Regions from separate parts of the Homo sapiens genome. Here regions 1, 3, 4 and 5 are each linked to region 2. The links are contacts of gene promoters, found by promoter capture Hi-C in blood cells and fetal thymus (Javierre and others, 2016). All regions are on one chromosome and are shown on one strand. The core of a region is centred on a gene start or on the middle of the fragment in contact, and the rest is flanking DNA. Distances in the headings are between cores, read along the strand shown. Region 1 overlaps LOC105377700 (a long non-coding RNA gene). Region 2 holds the start of RARS1 (arginyl-tRNA synthetase 1). Region 3 has its middle 15 kb from the start of CCNG1. Region 4 overlaps CCNG1 (cyclin G1). Region 5 overlaps BOD1 (biorientation of chromosomes in cell division 1).

Region 1 (2,700 bases), core at 88-2,587, 5.1 Mb after region 2:
GCTGGAGTGCAGTAGCACGAACTTGACTCACTGCAACCTCCCGCCTCCCAGGCTTAAGTGATTCTCCTGCCTCAGCCTCCTGAGTAGCTGGGATTACAGGAGTGTGCCACCACGCCTGGCTAATTTTTTGTATTTTTAGTAGAGACAGGGTTTTGCCACATTGCCCAGGCTGGTCTCGAACCCCTGAGCTCAGACAATCTGCCCGAGAGGCAACTTGTTGGGAGAAATAACCAGTTTGAATGAGAGATCCTGTAAGGATTGGTTGATCTTCTTGGGGAAGAAAAACTAAGCAAAATAATTAACCACGTGAAGAAACGATTTAACAGACACTTCTCTTGTCAGGCAAGGGAAGTAATGTTTATTGAGCTCCAATTTTATGCTGTGCACTGAGTCAGAGATTGCACACATGCCACCTGATTCGCTCCTTACAACAGTATGATAAATTAAAAATTCTTATTCCCATTTTACCGATAAGGAAACTCAGTCTCAGAACACTTTCAGTAACTTACATGTGATAAAACAGGTAGTAAGTGGCAGGAAGTTATCAGGAAGAGTGTGTGTAATCAGGGCTGGGGCAACACTGGTGCAAAATAATTTATGATAAGTGAAACATCTACAATTTTCGTAAGAACAGGATCAGTAATAACGTTGTGCTGAACCATACTGGAGCCCGAAGCCAAGGGAATTTTTTGATGCCCCTTAAATTCTGTGCCAAGACAGGAGCCTCATTTGCTTCGCCCTAGGCCCAGCCCTGCAAATACTACAAAGTGCTTGTTCAGAAAGCTTTTTTCCAACATTTATCTAATAACAATTTATTGACTGGCTACTGTGCACCCGTCACTATGATCGGGTTTTGAAACAAAACATTAAGTTAGAATGTACCTGATTTCTGCTTTCCTGATACTTGTGGAACACCCTGCTCAAAGCTGGAAAGTATTATTATACAATAGATGACTCTTAGCTGGAAAGTATTATTAGATAATAGATGACTCTTAGTCACTTACTCCTTTGTTGTAGATAAGGAAAATGTGGCAAACTAGAGCCATGGAATTGGACTTTCATGGCCCCCATGTCTCTGCTGAATTTTGTAACTTCAGAAAACAATTTGTAGATTGAGATCACAAAGTCTTATGTTTGATGTGTTGAATAAACCATGTTCTTCAAGATCTTCTCTTTCATTAGTATCCCTTGACCAGGCAGATTGGAATATTGTCCTAATCATGGAGACCATACGTTATCTTTCAGTTTCATAGTGATTACAAGCATGAGTTTTGGCACAGCCAGACTTGAGTCTGTGAGTTATTAAGAACAATTGGGGCCTGGTGTGGTGGCTCAAGCCTGTAATTCCAGCACTTTGGGAGGCCGACGCGGGTGGATCATGAGGTCAGGAGATCAAGACCATCCTGGCTAACAGTGAAACCCTGTCTCTACTAAAAATCCAAAAATAATTAGGTGGGCATGGTGGCATGTGCCTGTAATCCCAGCTACTCAGGAGGCTGAGGCAGGAGAATCCTTTGAACCCGGGAGGCAGAGATTGCAGTGAGCCGAGATTGCGCCACTGCACTACACTCCAGCCTGGGCGACAGAGGGAGACTCCGTCAAAAAAAAAAAAAAAGAAAAAAGAAAAATAAATAAATTAAAAAAAGGACAACTGGTATCCCAGTTCTACTGGTAACTTTGGAGAACTTATTTAACATCTCTGTACTACTGTTTCATCAGTAAATGGTGGGTAATAAGAGTAGTAAGCTAAACTATATCAGGTGCTTACAACAATTCATGGTACATAGTAGGTGCTTAATATAAGTGAGCTTCTACTATTATAGTAACGGCCGCAATAGTTCTGTCACTAACTCTGTGATCCTCTGTAAATTACTTGGCTTATGTAAGCTTTAGTTATCTCAATTGACAAATGAAAGAAAATAATTGTACCTACCTCCTGAGGCTCTTGTGCTGACTAAGGCAGAGAATAAATGAAGATCACTTGGCTTGGCATATAAATGCTTGGAAAAATGTTAGCTCTTTTTTTTTCTAAAATGACTCTTTTAAACTAAAGATCCTTCAAAATTCAATGGCAGTTATAGATCATTCATCTTCTGTACTTGATGTTGTTCATAGTGCCTGGGACATAGCAGTACTCAATAAATCTTTGATGAAAGCATACAGAAATAAATAACGTTAGAGACATAAAAGCCCATAAGTAGCTGAGGTGTGCACGCAACGGTGAAGTAAGTAAAGGTCATTTCGTTTTGTGTGTGTGTGTGTGTGTGTGCGCACGCATGTGTGTGTAAGGAGGGAGGGGGGAGAGAGAGGGAGGGAGAGAGAGGGATAACATATAAGAAAGTAAATGAAAAGCTTCATTGAATTCTAGTGAATTTTGTGCTTCCCTTGCTTATGTTTAATAAAGATCACACAGAAGGAAGCTTCAAAAAGACAATGCAGATTTTCACAAGTGGAAAAGGATATTCGCAGTTCTATGGCTATCGATTTCTCTGACAAATCACTCAAGTCCAGTGGAGTTATTCAAATAGATATCAGAATAGATTATTACTTCATTGGAAAAATTTAAAGCCAAAGAACACAGAACATTGGAGTTATATTTTTTGATCCTCTCCTTGATCATGTTCTTAGCTGAGCTTACCCTTTTATTCTCTTTCCACGTCTTTCTCAAAAGTTAGAGAAAAAAAAAACAGGTCAATCAAT
Region 2 (2,700 bases), core at 181-2,680:
TAGCTCAAGGGTCTGCCTTTCACCCTTTCTGGGACTAAACAATTTTCCCATTTCTTCCTGTTTCCAGTGTCTTAGGTCCTAGACTAGACCAGACCAGGCTTTGTAGTTTAACATCTAAAACTAAAGACATGTCAATTCAGAAAGAAATAAAGCTTCCAACTTAAACTGCAAAACTCAGGGGGAGTTCCTCACCTGAAATTTCAGAATACTTACTGGGAGATAGCTACAGCCAAAACCAAATTGCCAAAAATGAGCATACATTATGTTCCAGGAGCTGAGCTAAAAACACTTTTCAGAAATTACCTTCATGATTATCACAACCAAGTGAGGCAAAGATAAATACATACCGATAAATAAATGGCTCAGAAATGTAAAGAGCTTGCCAATTTACTTGACTAACTTGTACTTTGTGACTGCTGATTAAGTATACAGCCGTAACAGGACAGAGTACTGTGAACTATCTTCCTACCATCCCTCCCCACCTGGGCATAAAAGGTAATGGAACTGTTCCGCTTTCACTTTTTTTTTTTGTAGGGGGACGGAGTCTCACTCTGTCGCCCAGGCTGTGGTGCAGTGGTGTGCTCTCTGCTCACTGCAAGCTCCGCCTCCCGGGTTCACGCCATTCTCCTGCCTCAGCCTCCCGAGTAGCTAGGAATACAGGGACCCCCCCCAACACAGCCGGTTAAGTTTTTTTGTATTTTCAGTAGAGACGGAGTTTCACTGTGTTAGCCAGGATGGTCTCGATCTCCTGACATCGTGATCCGCCCACCTCGGCCTCCCAAAGTGCTGGGATTACAGGCATGAGCCACCGCGCCCGGCCGCTTTCACTTTTATATGGTGTGGCTGCTCCTTCCCGACGAATGCTGAGGGCACAGAGCAAGCTCCGCTGGTCTGATAATGAATCACCCCATGGGCTTATTAGGAATCCTCTCGCTCAGTAACCCGGGAAGAACTGCGGCTGAGCTGCAAACCAAGACCCAGAGCTCTGAATGTATTCCCCCCTTGTCTATCTCCCCGCATCCCCTAAATCGCGTGTGTATGCAGAAGAGGAGGTGGATTGTAGGGAGAGAACTGTTCTGAACATGCCAGGCTCCAGCCCACCGAAGACGCTGGTTTGGGGGAGGCCTGGGAGAGGGTGGGGACCCTCCATTCCGCTGAAAATCACAGTCACACGGGCTTTGAAATGATGGGTGCTTCCTCTCTCAACCCTTCCTGTTCCCACAGGGACCGTGCCGCTCCACTCTGAGAGGACCAGGATGGTCCTCGCCTAGCTGTCCCGCCCCCGAAGCCGCTTGGGCAGGAGTCAGAGCCTGCTCCATCTCTTTCAGGCCTTCCCGCCGGTCTCCTGCGTCCAAACCTGCTGCAGCAGCCGCGCGGAGCACTCAGACACCAGTACGTCCATCCTCCCATCAGCGTCTCACTCGCCAAGTGGACGGAAGCGGAAACGGTCAGCCTCTCCCGGAAGCGGAAACCCCCTCCGGTCCGCTGTCCCGTCGGACTGGGTGCTGGCGCCTCTGCTGCCTCCTGGCGGGATCCAGTAGACACTGCGAGGAGAACCCGCGGGGATTTCGGTCAGGAGCGAGGCCGCAACTCAGGGACGTTTGGGCGAGGGGAGAGGAATTGAGCAGACACTAACCAGAGCTGCTCTGTGCTTGGATAGACTAGGACAGTCACTGACCTAGAGCTTCTGGCTCTCAAAGGCCTCACTTTGCCCCTTTGTGAAATGGGCACAAAACTAACAAATCCATTCATTTATTCAACAAACATTTATTGTGTACTTTAAAATGCCAGACAGTATTCTAGGCTCTGGGGGCACAAAGAAAACAAAACAGACACGATCTCCCCTCTCACGGCAGACACATTTTAGAATGGAGAGAGAAAATAGACCAAAAAAGGCAATAATCTCAGGTAGTTTTAATTGCTAGGAAGGCAATGTGATAGAGTGACTTGGGTGAGAGAAGACATCTCTAAGCAAGTGACATTTGAGTTAAAATCTTATTTATTTTTCCAGTTTTATTGAGGTATAATTGACAAAGATTGTATATCATAACGATGTACAACGTAATGTTTTGATATATGTATACATTCTGAAATGATTACCACAACCAAAATAATTAACATAACCTTCATCTCATACAGTTATCATTTGCATGTGTGTGTGTGTGTGTGTGTGCGCGCGCGCGCGCGCGCGTGTGTGCTGTGAACATTTAAGATCTATTCTCATCCTGGGAAACAGCTAAGACCTCGTCTCTACAAAAAAATGGAAAAATAGCCGGGCATGGTGGCATGTGCCTGTAGTCCCTGGTATATAGGAGGCTGAGGTGGGAGGATCACTTGAGCCCAAGAATTTGAGGCTGCGGTGAGCCATGATCATGCCACTGTACTCTGCCTGGATGACAGAGTGAGACCTTTTCTCTCTCTATTTAAAAACAAACAAAACGAAACGAAAACGAAAACTGCAAGTATACAATATACATTACATCTCTAGAATCTATTCATCCCGCCTAACTGAAACTTTGTAACTTTGAGCAACATCTCCCATCTTTCCTACCTCTGAAGCCCTGACAACCACCATTCTATGCTCTGCTTCTATGAATCTGAATTTTTTAGATTACACATATACATGGGCTAATGTAGTATTTGTCTTTCTGTGCCCGGCTTATTGCACCAACATAATGTTCTCCAGGTTCATCTATGTTG
Region 3 (2,700 bases), core at 4-2,503, 5.1 Mb after region 2:
TTGGCTTCCCAACGTGCTGGGATTACAGGTGTGAGCCACCATTCCTAGCCAAGGTTTGTCATTTTAGTTCATCTTTGCAAACAATTTTTGTGTTTTTAAAAATCTGCTCAGTGTTTTTCTCTTCTCTACTTTATTTATTTTCATTTTAACCTTATTATTTCCATCCTTGGTTTTGCTTTGATTTTAGTGGAAGATGACATTGTTGAGTGGAGATTTTTTTTAAAAAAAGCATTTAAAGCTATAAATTTCCCTCTGAGCACTTCTTTAGTTGCATCTATAAGCTTTGGTATGTTGTTTTTATTTTCATTCATCACATGGGATTTTCAAATTTAAATTTTTTCTCTGTCCCATTGGTTGTTTGAGAGTCTCTTGTTTAATTTTCAATTATTTTGTAGATGTCTCAAACTTTCTCTCATTGTTATTTTCTAATTTTATTTCTTTGTAGTTGGAGAATATATTTTGTATGATTTTAATTCCTTTACATTTATTGAGACCTGGCTTATGACCTAGTCTATGGTTTATTCTGAAAAATGTTCTATTTGTGCCTTAGAAGAATGTGTACTGGCTGGGTACAGTGGGTCACACTTATAATCCCAGCATTTTGAGAGGCTGTGGCAGAGAATCACTTGAGGACAAGAGTTCGAGACCAGCTGAGCAGCACAGCAAGACCACATCTCTATTAATAATAATAATAATAATAATAATAATAATAATAATAATAAGAATGTGTATTTTGCTGTTGTTGGGTGGAGTATTCTAGATGTATGTTAGGTCTAATTCACTTATGGTGTTGTTCAAGTCTTCGGTTTCCTGTTAAATCTTCTGCATAATTGTTTTATTCATCATTAAAAGCAGAGTATAAAGTATCCAGCTTTTATTGTGGAATTGTCTATTTTACCTTTCAATTCCATGAGTTTTTGCTTCATGTATTTTTTAGATCATTTTAAGTTTCTCTATAGTAACTTTTCATGCAGTTTTTTTTTCTTGTTATGATTTTTTTTGGATGGATTTTGAAACCCCTGCATTTTATAATTGATTTGTCTCCAGGGAAATTATGCCATAATGACAGTATTAAACTAAATAGCAATTAGTAAGGTAAATCATTTGCTATATCCATTTGTTTATTATTTTGCAACACTATTGTATTCTATCATCACTGAGGTTAAAAATATGTGTGTATGGGATTCTTTTTATATATATAGTTATATACCGAGGTGTGTGTGTGTGTGTGTGTGTGTATTACATAGAAAGAAGTCATAACAGTTTCCTGAGAACAATAAGTCATATACATTGAAGTCTGTGGATAACTTGAGCTTTCCTGGTGTAGAGGAAAGGGGTTGTAGAAGGTTGTTTTCCTCTAAAATGCTTGTTATATGTGGAAGTGGTATGGAAAACTCTGCTGTAGATAGTTTGGAGTCTTGGCTACTTCATAAAACATGGAATGAAAAATTCGTCTTGAAAATTACTGATAATGGTAAGTATAACTAGGCATTGCATGTTTATTTTTAAAAAGTCTTATTGCTCTAAAATATGGAATACTAATCTATACTCCCCATCCAAAGAATTTGTTTTTGGAAATTCTTACTTATATTCTCCTCTTGCCATCCTGCCATCTCTCTTCTCTCCCCCGTTTCCCATCCCTGCCAGGTCGACTCACCATAAGTAGAAAAATCTCACCATAAGTAGAAAAATCTCTTCATTAAATCTTATCTGTACCATGCTATCATCCCCATGGTTCTTATATCTGCTACAAAATAGCTAATCTAAAAAACTAACTTGTACCAATATAATGTGTTAGTCCTATTTTGGTTATCAATGGCTACATAAAAACAAAACAAAACACCAAAAATTGAAAAAAAAAAAGCCCCAAAACGAAGTGAACTAAAGATATGATGTCATTTGCTTTACCATCAATTCTGTAACTTGGGAAGACATGTAGACAGCTCATTTCTGCTACACTTGGCTAGAGGCAGCTCAAGTGGCTTGGAGGCTGGGTACCAGAATCTTCTGAAGACTTCACTTGCCTACATGTGTGGCTTCAATGCTGGCTGTGAGCTGGAACTTCAACTTTGGTATGGCCAGAATACTTACATGTGGCCTTTCAATGTGGCTACTTGGCTTCCTTACATGGCGTCTGGGTTCCAAGGATGAGCACAGAGATAGAGAGAGAAAGAGAGAAAGAGAGAGACAGAGAGAGGGAGAGAGCATGCCAGGCAGAAGCTTTATTGTCTTTTATGAACTAGTCACAAAAGTCATGCAGCATCTGTTCTGTTGTTTTCTTGTTGGCCAAGGCAGTCCAAACAGCCTACCTCAATTCAAGGAAAATGAAAAGAGGCTCCAAATCTTGATGGGGAGTGGTAACGATCTGATAGAGTGTGTGAAAGCAGAAATATTGCTGTGGCTATTTTTGGAAAATACAATCTGCCACATTTCTCAATGGTAGTATACAAATTTTAATTAGGCAACATTGGGATCTAAAGGAATTAATGTCAAAGTCAGAATTTTAGACAATAAAGCATACCTCTCAGGGAGATATTTAGGCAGCATGTTCAATAACTTTCAAATACTGTGGAGGCAACCACATATGCTGCAATACCTGGGCCAGTTCTGTAAAGAAACAATCAAGTTTTCTTTTCTTTTCTTTTTTTTTTTTTTTGAGATGGAGTCTCACTCTGTTGCCCAGGCTGGAGTGCAGTGGCT
Region 4 (2,700 bases), core at 80-2,579, 5.0 Mb after region 2:
TCTGAACATTTGGTTTGGAACACTTATTTGATGAATATTCAGTTAAACATTTGGATACAAGCTCTTGCCAGAAGGTCAGATCTCTGCCATTTATCTGTACATACATAAATTTTAAAAAATTATTACTCCAAGTAAGTCCCACCTTATTTAACTACATTAATAAATGCAATCCTATGAACATGTGTCTTTGCTCATTAAAAACATTTGAGGATAGCTACTTAAGTTTCAAATAAACATATGACATCTCATTTTACTTCAGGAGATAGAAGGGGTTTAGTTTCTTTTACAGCTGTTAATAGGATTTAGGCTATGTCCTTCACATACCTTGGAATGTTTCTGAAGACATTCTATTCCTTCTGTTAACTCTACACACTTCTGTGCTTGGATCTCTAATGCAATGATAGACAATGCCAACACAGAAGGCTAAAAGAGATAAATTTAAAGTAAATGCCAAATATAAAAACAGATCATATCAATAGGCATAATCTTTATAAAATATTTACCTTTGCTTTAGAAAATATGATCCTGCAATGACATGCCTTCAGTTGAGCTTCTAGTCTTTCAAAATTAATGCTATTTCTCCTTTAAAAAGAAAATGGTATTACTTTTATTAGGTAATACTACATCTAGTCAAAAGATGTTTTTAGAAAAACATTGAAGTCAATTTTTAAAGTAAAGCTTATGCACACTTAACATAGCAAATGAACTATTGAAAGGAATTCCCCTTCCATCAGAGATACTAACTTCTAAAGGCACCATATGGGAGTTTTAGATGATTTGGGCCAAAAAATTAAAATGAATAGTACTATGCCACAAATACAAGATTTATTTTCTTTTAGTTTTAATAAATATTTCAACATCCACTGAAGGTCCTTTTTTTCCATAAATTTGTGTTAGATGCTTTCCTACTAGGTTCTATAAAGTCAAAATGTACTTTAATCCCAAGAATTAGCTTTAACGAAGCTATTGACAATGGAACATTTTCTCACTTATGATGGACATTAAAGTTCAAGGAGCCACAGCTGTCATTTTACTTATTTTTATTAGAATTCTATGAGGATACTGATTTTATGCAATATCCATACAATACCATTCTGATTTCCAAATGTCTCTTGTTCAAAACAAAGGTCACTTACCTTTCAAGTGGCAAGTTCTCTTGAAGGAGTGAATAATACAGTTGCAGAAATTGAAAGGCAGTAGTAGCTTTGACTTTCCAACACACCTTCTCCAATACAATCTTTTCCATTCTCATCAAGTCTGAAACCGTAAACCTATATTGACTTATTCGGATCAAGTCAGTTGCCAATGGGACATTCCTTTCCTCTTCTATTGATTTTACAGCCAAATAAAAGCAGCTCAGTCCAACACACCCAAGGTGCTTGGGCTGTACCTAAAAAATCAAAAACAAAACCAGTAAGCCCATGACTCTACCTTATTTCAATTAAAACATAAAGGATAATCTAGAACTCCGACCCAACATTTTGAAAATGTATATTTGAGGTTTATTTCTCAGCTGTGATGGACTTAACACAATCCACTCATACCTAAACTATAGCCTGTCAACACTATGGACCCCACTTAGAACCAATTTTTGAGTAACTGGACTGAGTTTCAGTATAATGTTTGGCTCAGCATAGAAAAAGTGTGTTTTTATTAATCACTGTAGAACTATAAGTAAACATTGTTCTAGTTTGATCAAATAAGTTAACTAGTCAAAGATATATGAGGACTGAAATACTTTATGGCTTATTTACAAAATAAGCCATTTCTTTGCAGGATGTTGTATTTTTTCCAGGCTCTTGTCTTTGTGGGAACACATATAAAACAGTTTTAAAATACTATGGCATATACTGTTTACTCTGCCTCTAAGAGTTCTATCCACTACTAATCTTTATCATTTAATTTTCTGAATGTCTGCCGTATGAGACACAGTCAAAACTTTATCCAGTTTACTTCCAGCTCACATGAAACTAAGCTTTTACCAGTATTAATATCTCTGTGCTCTCTCTCTTCTTGTAAACTCTTCAGCAGTACACTTATGCCTCTTTAAAGGCATAATGTAGTTATTTTTCTTATTATGACTTGTACATAAGAGCAACGATCTTATTCTCACATAAGACTGAATTATACCTGAGGAATAGCTGTATATTATTCATTTGTGCAACATTTACAGATTCAAAGGTAATGACTACATGTGAAATGTCTAAAGAGCTTAATTAGTCTGTTGAAGCAAATTTCTTGAATCTTCAACAAATATTGAAGTCCTTTTTTATGATGCACTGTGTTAGATACCGAGGACTAAAATATGAGTTTCCTTCCAATTGTCACATCATCTTATTTTCCTCCAGTGACCATGGGTGTACAGGAAAGGCAGATGCATTTGTAACAGTTAAGCTCTGAAAGTGACAGTCTTGTTTATCTAGTATAGGAAAATAGTTGCTCCTCCTTCAGACACACTCTCCTCCCTACTGCATGTACACTGAAGCTGGAAATGCCAAGCATAAGCAAGTCTTGACTAGGTCTAAGGCTAAAACATTTACAATTTTATATATGGGTAGTGATTAACAAATATATCTTAATTCTTAGCCACAATGTAGCCTCTAATAAATTTCTGCCACTAATAAATTTGTTTATATCTAAAAATAGTAAATAAATGGACAAATCCAACCTATCAAGAAGGGTTTTTTAAAAACAGCCAAT
Region 5 (2,700 bases), core at 92-2,591, 5.1 Mb before region 2:
GCCAGCTTACCAAAACCTGAGGCAGAAAGTGGATAATTTTGTGTCAACACATCTGGACAAGCAGGAATGGAATCCTACGATGAACAAAAACCAGTTGCGAAATGGTCTGAGGCAGAGTGTGGTTCAGTAAGTAAGCAGAATTTAAAGCTTTTGAAAAGGCAGTCATCACAAGTGTGATGCACAAGAAGGTTGAGGTCTCTGTTTAGTCAAGGTTGATGGGACTTTATATCAAGTATCACTTAGGAGTTGCAGCAGTCTGCTCTTTTGTTATAATTAAGGTTAAAGGAAGCAAAGTACTCAGTTGAAATTCCAGTTTCTGCAGCCTGTGAAGGCCTCCTGTGTGCATCTCTACTGGGTGCATCAAAAGGCATTCCAAATCGTGAGACATTTTCCCTGCTCTTTGAAGTTTCAGTGTTGTCCAAACATATATGTGAGTTTTATACCAAGATATCAGGGTTTGGATCTTGGGCAAGAGGAGTTGGATCTTTATTCTCACAGGTGAATGTGAACTAAATAAATTCTTTGAGTCCACCAGGACTGCCACCTCTAAAGTGTAATGGTGACAGCTTTCAGGAAGGCATAGTCTTAATAAAGTATCGTACTTCACAGTAACAAACTGAACCTTAGTTAATAAAGGTGCTATTGATAGCTTATCTGAGTGACGCACAAAAGTGGAGGTGGAGGAGGGTACAGAAATGGGAGAACACATTAGTGATTGCCTGGGGTTACGGATGGGAGGAGGGGGTGAGTGTGACTTGCAAGTGGTAGCACAAGGGGGAGCTTGCAATGGTGCAGTTAAGTGTCACTGAATTGTGCTGTGCTCACGTGCAACAGCTCGTATGGTAAAGTCGCACGGAGCTACACACACAAATAAGTGCAAGTGTAACTGAAGTCTAAATAAGGTCTGGATTGGACCAGTGTCATTTTCCTGGTTTTGATATTGCACTAGTTACGCAAGGTGCTGACATTAGAGCTGGCTGGGTGAAGGGTGCGTGTGGAACTCCCTGGACTCTTCTTCACAACTTCCTGTGAATATGCAGCGATTTTAAGATTTCTAAAGTTTTTAAAAGTGTTTTACTAACAAGCTAGTACTTCCAATATGGCTGAATGCTGGGAAGAAGCCTGATAGCAGAAGATGCCCAGTGCCTTGTCATTCTGGAGTCAGTACCGAGTGCCTTTCCCTTTCTCCAGAGAACAGACTGGTGGCACCGGGCTCTTTCAGAAAGAAGGGGACAGTAGCTGCCCCTTACTGAGCAACTCTTTATTACATGTCTGGCACTGGTCTTTACATATATCACTCATCCTCATGAAAAGCCTGTTTCACAGCTAAAGTCACTTGTGTTTACCCTGTCTTGAGTAAATCAAAACACTGAACATTCTGAAATATTTGGAAAGTTGCCATGATTGTATGAAGGCTGTTAACATTGCTTTGATTTCTGTAATGAGCATGGATGTCATTCTAGAGGTATGCATGTGGCGCTTCCTCTTGCATTTCTTTAGTAGGAATTGTAATACGGAAAAGTGCACAGAAGTTCAGTGAAACAGATAATTAGAACATCCCTTGATCACCCAGATCGAGAAATGGACTCACACCCCCGAAACAGCCTAGCTCCGGATGTACTTTCCTCCTTTCGGAAGTTTTCCATATTCCTGACTTTTATACTAATCATTTCCTCTCTGCATAGTTTTTACCACCTCTGTGAAGTTGTTGTTTTTTTTTTTTTCCCTGCTTTTTGATTTGACTTAGAATGTGTTTAACCTGAAAACATGAACTTGGCTTTAATACTGGGACATTTCTCCACAATTCTTGCTAGCATTTTGAATTTGAGGCAAAATCTACTGGAGTTTCGAAACGCAGACTTTCTGCTTGCCCCCAGGTGCTCTCCCCAGGTGGACACTGCAGGCCTTCAGAGCATTGGCTCACTGGCCTGGCTGTTCTGGCCCAGATGCTGTAACCCAGTGCCACAGCCTAGAGGGTTTAACAGGAAATTAGCCTGTGCTATTGCACTGAATTATGACGAATAACTCTTGTAACTGTACAATATTTGTTTTTTCCATCTTGTACATTGGGCTCCTGACAAGATTTTATGTTTTCCTCAAAAGTTTAAGAATCTCCAGGAAAGTGAGCTGCACTCCCTTGGTAGTTTGTTTCCCCTGATCAGGGGTTTTGGTCAGTTGGGGATGCTTTAACAAGGCGCCGTAGACTAGGTGGCTTGTAAACAATGGAAATTTACTTCTCACCATTCTGGAGGCTAGAAGTCCAAGACCAAGATGCCAGCATGGTCAGGTTCAGGGGAAGGCCTTCTTGCAGGCAGCAGACTGCCAACTGCTTGTTCTTCTCATGTGGTGGAAAGAGAGCTCGCTAACTTCCTGGGGTCCCTTTTGTAAGGGCATAAATTGCATTCGCGGAGGCTCTGCCCCCATGACCCGATCGCCTCCCAAAGGCCCTACCTCCAAAGGCCATCACATTAAGGATTAGATTTCAACATAGGAAGTCTGGGGGACACAGGCATTTAGTTGATAATATCAAGCTTTTACATCTGGTAAAGGACCCTGTGAATCCGACTCAGGAAGTGGTTTGGTAAAGTTGGAAAGGTATTGGCTTGTGACTGAGGAGAGGTGGCTTTCCTTTGTTAGCATCCCATAGCCGGATGCTAACTTTGCTGTATTTAACGATGCTCATCACTAAGGGCCGATACT

What was found. Contacts are between HindIII fragments. The CHiCAGO score rates a contact against its expected background, and 5 or more counts as called.
Region 1: a fragment that was not itself captured here is called in contact with the fragment with the promoter of RARS1 in region 2 in 2 of 17 cell types (total B cells and naive B cells); the score reaches 8.0 in total B cells.
Region 3: a fragment that was not itself captured here is called in contact with the fragment with the promoter of RARS1 in region 2 in 2 of 17 cell types (naive CD8 T cells and activated CD4 T cells); the score reaches 7.0 in naive CD8 T cells.
Region 4: a fragment that was not itself captured here is called in contact with the fragment with the promoter of RARS1 in region 2 in 11 of 17 cell types (total B cells, non-activated CD4 T cells, naive B cells and 8 more); the score reaches 24.1 in total B cells.
Region 5: a fragment that was not itself captured here is called in contact with the fragment with the promoter of RARS1 in region 2 in 1 of 17 cell types (naive CD8 T cells); the score reaches 8.2 in naive CD8 T cells.

The regions. Positions count from the first base shown.
Region 1 is chr5:163,404,230-163,406,929 of GRCh38, reverse strand. All of the region lies in intron 1 of LOC105377700 (a long non-coding RNA gene), which reads left to right. Among named protein-coding and RNA genes, the nearest start is that of CCNG1, 32 kb to the left of the region's middle. The HindIII fragment of the contact is 1,104 bases long and covers 786-1,889 here.
Region 2 is chr5:168,485,201-168,487,900 of GRCh38, reverse strand. It overlaps RARS1 (arginyl-tRNA synthetase 1), which reads right to left and starts at 1,430. Exons shown (of 15, transcript NM_002887.4): 1 at 1,358-1,430. The coding sequence starts at 1,402. The HindIII fragment of the contact is 3,317 bases long and covers 155-2,700 here.
Region 3 is chr5:163,421,050-163,423,749 of GRCh38, reverse strand. It overlaps a transcript of LOC105377700 not described here. Among named protein-coding and RNA genes, the nearest start is that of CCNG1, 15 kb to the left of the region's middle. The HindIII fragment of the contact is 1,939 bases long and covers 284-2,222 here.
Region 4 is chr5:163,439,768-163,442,467 of GRCh38, reverse strand. It overlaps CCNG1 (cyclin G1), which reads right to left. Exons shown (of 7, transcript NM_004060.4): 3 at 1,137-1,390; 4 at 504-582; 5 at 325-423; 6 at 1-94. Among named protein-coding and RNA genes, the nearest start is that of CCNG1, 3.5 kb to the right of the region's middle. The HindIII fragment of the contact is 1,297 bases long and covers 681-1,977 here.
Region 5 is chr5:173,610,557-173,613,256 of GRCh38, reverse strand. It overlaps BOD1 (biorientation of chromosomes in cell division 1), which reads left to right. Exons shown (of 4, transcript NM_138369.3): 2 at 2-126. Among named protein-coding and RNA genes, the nearest start is that of BOD1, 4.7 kb to the left of the region's middle. The HindIII fragment of the contact is 2,384 bases long and covers 150-2,533 here.